Linked DNA regions of Homo sapiens: region 2 is linked to region 1. The links are contacts of gene promoters, found by promoter capture Hi-C in blood cells and fetal thymus (Javierre and others, 2016). All regions are on one chromosome and are shown on one strand. The core of a region is centred on a gene start or on the middle of the fragment in contact, and the rest is flanking DNA. Distances in the headings are between cores, read along the strand shown.

Evidence for each region. The method cuts DNA at HindIII sites, captures the fragments that hold promoters and counts their contacts. A CHiCAGO score of 5 or more calls a contact.
Region 2: a fragment that was not itself captured here is called in contact with the fragment with the promoter of VSIG8 in region 1 in 2 of 17 cell types (naive CD4 T cells and total CD8 T cells); the score reaches 5.8 in naive CD4 T cells.

The regions. Positions count from the first base shown.
Region 1 is chr1:159,861,269-159,864,015 of GRCh38, forward strand. It overlaps VSIG8 (V-set and immunoglobulin domain containing 8), which reads right to left and starts at 1,389. Exons shown (of 7, transcript NM_001013661.1): 1 at 1,205-1,389. The coding sequence starts at 1,253. LOC107985216 (a long non-coding RNA gene) reads left to right here. Exons shown (of 2, transcript XR_001738263.2): 2 at 1-2,747. RefSeq lists enhancers at 1-804, 805-1,717. The HindIII fragment of the contact is 16,901 bases long and covers 1-2,747 here.
Region 2 is chr1:159,777,166-159,779,912 of GRCh38, forward strand. It overlaps LOC101928264 (a long non-coding RNA gene), which reads right to left and starts at 2,216. Exons shown (of 3, transcript XR_922193.3): 1 at 2,061-2,216; 2 at 1,250-1,496. The HindIII fragment of the contact is 665 bases long and covers 1,030-1,694 here.

The sequences.
Region 1 (2,747 bases), core at 139-2,638:
GGGTGTCATCTCAATAGTGGTGCCTACTCTCTGCTTGCAAATTCTTTCTGAATCTTCAAGGTGCTTCCAGAACTCCTGATCTTCCCTCTGGAGGTAAGGGAGGGGAGAAAAGGCGGCTCCAGCTGAGGGTATTGATGCGTTAATGCAGCCAGTGCTGAGTTGTCCTCACACACCCATTGACACACCACACAGGGGGAAGTCCGGGTCCCCACAGCACAGCTGGAGCCTCCCGAGTGGACTCTGCCAGCCCTGCTCTCATCAGACAGAGAAGGGCTGCAGCTATCCTGCCGGAAATGTCATCATTCCCATGCAGGTGCACGCACCCACACACTCACATACACATTCACGCTCACACAAAGGCTGAAAATGTCACCCCGCCTTCCCAAATTCCTCCTTCATGCCCCTTCATCCCAAATCCAGACTGCAAGAGGGACTCGGAGCCCTTTCCAGTGATGTTGGCATAGAATGCCCCTTGGTGGAACTTGCCCCAACCTGGGCAGGAAGCCACAATGTCCAAACTTGAGCCCTGCCCTGTGGACCTGTCCTGGTGGGGTGAGAAGTCTCTGGAGTTGCCATCCCCACCACCCTCAGGCCTCATCCTAGAGTGGGGCACTGCCCTGTCATAGCACAGGGGGCCCAAGGCTGAGGTCTCAGGCCTGAGCTGTCACTGGCCATGATGGAAGAAACCACTCAGACTTACACCAGACTTAGTCTCTTGCCCTTTCAAGGCAAGTGACTTCCCTGCCCCTTGGCCCTGGCCTTGGGAGAGAAGGAGTAGCGTTGGGAATAGCACACAGTCTGATGAAAATTGATCCTTCCCAAGCTCCTCCTGAGCCCTCACCCAATGCCCGTGCTTACCCCTCTCCTACCCCACCTCCAGCTCCTGCAGAGCAATCAATCCCTCTCCTCCTAGTCACGGCATGAGCTTGCAGGGCACCTGCACACATGTGTGAGCCCGACAGGGGACATATAAAGATCCACTCAAAGACCTCTGCACTACAGACACACACCCTGAACATCAGGCACAGGGTCTCCTGGGGAAAGGTCCCCTGGTAATACCCACACCCGGCTGCAGCAGGGCAAGGGTGGGCAGCACCCTGCCAGGCAACTCAGGCAGCCCCAGGCTCCACTGTGAGCCCTTGCTGCCCCTTTCCTTCCCACCTAGCCTCATGCTGGCTACCCTGCCCCCTGCCCAGCCCCGTACCTGGGCTCAGGCACACGAGTAGAAGGTGGAATGCTCCTCCAACTCTCATGTCTCTAGGCTCGGTGTTTCCTCCGTCTGGGCTGGGTATCCCGTGGGGTCGTAGTGGTGGGTGTGAGGGGGTAGGTGGAGGGAGGGGGAGCTGAGGGCCCAGACACTGCCTGGGGTGGCAGGAAGGTGCAATGAGTGCCCAGCTGGGGAGCAGCTGGAGTTATTTCTATGGGAGGGAGGGGGCCTGGTCCCCGCCTTGGGGAGGAGTCCCAGGAACCCTAATTAGCAGGGTGACAGGGTGGCCTACCTGGGCATTACCCAGCCCTCACCCAAGCTCTTCCCTGTCCTAAGAGTGGCACAGGACAGCCAGCGGGACTTGTAATTAGGCACCTGTTAAACTTCACTTCCTCCTGGCCACATCCTCAGGGTGACAACAGTCACCTCATTTACAGCTTCCAAGGGCTCCCCTCACCACTCATTTGCTGCCTCCTTCCCTGGGGGAAGTGGGGAAGAGGAAGGAGAAGCCAGGCTTGGGAGAAAGAGTGGCCAGGACCTGAAGAGTTAATCCTGATCCCAGGGCATAGGGTTCCCCAGGAGTGTCCAGCCCACCTTCCCCCAGGCTTCAGGCCTTTCAAAGGGACTCAGGCCTCCTGAGCTGAAAGAGGAGAGAAGGGGTGTGTGCAGGAACAGAGTCTCCTCCTGGCTGTCCCCTCTGGAACTGTCCTCCACACCCATACTCGACTCAAGGCCATCCCCAAGTGTAGGGGACCCCTGGGAGCAGGGGTGCTATGGGGGGTCCAGGGTGTGTGCTAGGAGTAAGGTGACTGATGGGCTAGTGAGGGAGTGTTGGAGAGAACAGCGCCAAGAGGACCAGGGAAGGGGGTGCCTGTGTAAGCGTGTGCACCCCTCAGCAATGTCTGTGGGAGGGAGGCAGGATGTCTGTGTCAGGGTGTCTCTGTGAGGATGGCTAAGCCCCTCTGAGTGAACTTCTTGAGGGATCGCTTGGTGTCCTGGCTTCTCTGCCCAGAAAGAGTAGCCAGGTCTTGAGGGTTAATGCAGTCCCAGTATTAACTGGGTCCTTGAGACCAAGGACCCTCATAACCTGGACTGGTCATCGGGCTGACTAAACCAGCACAGTTCTGGGTAAGTTCGTGCTGGGGTGGGGAGGGTCCTGGTAGGCATGGGGAGCAAGTGAAGGGCCACCCCTTGTTGGCTTGTCTAAGGGGGACAGAATGGGCATGTGCCTTGTTGGACTCCATGGTGGGAGTCAGGACATGAGTGACCCCATTCAATAGCTCAACTCCCTCAAAGGAGTCAGGGACTGCCCCCATCCCTACCATGGGGCACAGAAAGGGCAGAGGAGGAAGAGTGTTAGGGAGAGTTATGGGGCTCAGGGATGCTGCCAGGGCCCACCCCTCTGGGGAAAAATAAGTCAGAACATTAAGGAAACACAAGGAGTCCACGCGTCTCTGCATTCCAAGCCGTTGCACCTGAACTCCCAACAATAACAGGGCGCTCTGAGACCTACCAGATGTACACAATGAATATCTTTATT
Region 2 (2,747 bases), core at 112-2,611, 84 kb before region 1:
GGACTGGGGCCTCAATATGAACAAGAACTAAGTCAAAACATTCTTATCAGCTGGAAAAAGGGAAGCTGAGATGCCCTAAAAAATGTTCTGTTAAGCCTTATTTTTTACTTTTAAGTTCAGGGGTACATGTGAAGAATGTGCAGGTTTGTTACATACGTAAAAGTGTGCCATGGTGGTTTGCTGCACAGATCATCCCATCACCTAGGTTTTAAGCCCAGCATCCATTAGCTATTCTTCCTGATGTTCTCCCTCCCCAAGTCCCCACCCCAGACAGGCCCCAGCATTTGTTGTTCCCCATCCCCATGTGTCCATGTGTTCTCATCATTCAGCTCCCACTTGTAAGTAAGAATATGCAGTGTTTGGTTTTCTGTTCCTGTGTTAGTTTGCTGAGAATAATGGCTTCCAGTTCCATCCATGTCCCTGCAAGGGAATGATCTCATTGCTTTTTATGGCTGTATCATATTCCATGGTGTATATGTACCACATTTTCTTTATCACTGATGGACATTTAGGTTGATTCCATGTCTTTGCTATTGCGAATGTGCTGCAATAAGCATATGGTGCATGTATCTTTATAAAAGAATGACTTGTATTCCTTTGGGTATATACCCAGTAATGGGATTGCTGGGTCTGCTGAGCTTTTCATTGGACAGTAGACAAAATGGAAAGAAAAATCCCTCTCTTCATAAGACATTTCTGGTAGTTCCAATTCAAGCTTATCTTTCCCCCACTGACTTCTTTTGCACTTGTTTTTACTGCACAATTAGCTTTTTAATATGTATTATCTGATTGTCTTTGATGAGCAATTTAGTACTTTATTATATGTCCTGAGAATAATTACATCAGAGTCTAAATCCCCCGCAAGGATGTTGTAAATTCCTTGAAGTCAGGGAAATTTCTTAAGCTTACTACTCAGCCCACCATCAGTGTCAATAGATTGTTCTCCAGGAACACGGCCCCTCCAAAGCACTCAAATACACAAGCCATCACACACATGCACACTACAAGAGCAGTGCTCTATAAAGAACAAGCTTTATTTGTCCCATTTCACAAAAATAGTAATTAGACATAGCCAAGATCATACTGACACAGCCATTCTTTATTTAAAAGCACAGTCAAGTAAAAAATACACTTCAAAGAGATACTACCCAATACTCAACACAGTCCTCAAACTTGTGCATTTAAAAAGAATTACAAATACACATTGCCACATGGTCCGACAGACTCACATTCACTCCTAGAAATGTACCTTCACGGTCTTGCCAATGCATTCTTCTTATTAATTTCCCATTCATTTGTTTACTTAACATTTTGAGCCCTGTGGCTCAGGCTCCATATTAGATGTGTGGAATTCAAAAACGGAACAACGCATTCTTGCCTCCTCTGCAAACAAGTATCCTCAATCCAATGACATTACTATACTGAGAAGACATATTTATACAAGGTGAGATGGGAGAAAAAAAAAAAGCCTAAATCTTCCTGAGGGTCAGGTAACTCTGTACAGAGGAGAGAATAAAAGAAGGTCAGTATCATGTATGTGGGCAGACAAGAAGGTGGTTAGTTGCAGAAGTCCTGTTAATTGCAGAAGTCTGAGCCAGGAAACCATCAGAGAGGGTTTTTCCTTACAGTTTGAGGCCCCTTGGGCCCAAGACAAAACATCATATGGCACCCTTGACATATGGCACCCTTGACAAAGCTTAAGGCAGGGACCCTGGGCCCTTTCCACTCTGGGTCTGCTGGAAGGGAAGGGCAGAGCTTCCTAAAAAGGGAGCCAACTGGCCTCTCCACATGGAGGCCCTAATGGTTTGATGGATGCACTGCTAGCCCTGCAGAAACCCACAAGAGGGAGAGAATCATTGGTAGGGGACTCAGGGAAGAGGAAGATCTCGGTCTCCCAAAAAAATTTTCTCTTTCTGGAGAATATGGGCTTCGAGCTGGATATCAAGGAGGCAAAGAAGGAGCACATAGGAGGGTAGGGAGTGAAGTGGAAACTTCCCTGGTGAGTAGGGGAAGCAAAGAAAGGAGAACAAGGCAAAGGGACTAAGAAAAGATTAACTTACAAGAACAAATGCTAGAGTCTTGTCTCCAGAGGTAGTGCAACCAGAAATCCTGAAGAGCAGTTGAATTGAGAAGAGAAGTGGGAGGTCAGGGGGTTGGGGGAAGAGGTGACTGGTGGCTGAGAGGCCATGGCTGGGAAAGAGAGAAAGGAATAAACTGGGGAGGGCTGGTAACCTTGATAGGAATTTATGTAGGAAATGAGAGTGCAAACAGGAAGGGCTTAATGAGGGCTGTGATTGTCTGGAAGGAGAAAAAGGGGAGATTTGGCACCTCCTGGAACCTGGGGAAAGTAATTGTCTGGGTAAATGGTAAGTGTATTTCCCACAGGGTCAGAGCAGGCTTTGATCTTTAGGAGAAGACAAATTGCTTTCCATCTTGCTGAAGCCAAAGGCTTAAATGGTCAGACGTGTGTCATAGGTGGGTGCAAAGGGAAGGAAATATAATACATCCTCATGGCCAAGTGCCCTGGGCTTGGATCACTGTGTCCTTGGCCAAGTTAACCAACTTCTTTAAGCTTCCAATGATTCATGTACAAAAAAAGATACAAAAATACCTTTCACATGTGGTTCTTCCAGAAAGCGCTTGGCACAGGGCCTGGTACATAAACAAATTCAATAAGGGTTAACTATTTTCATAATTACAGTTAGTCTGCATCGCTAGAAGCACATTATTCAAATGAGGATATGGAC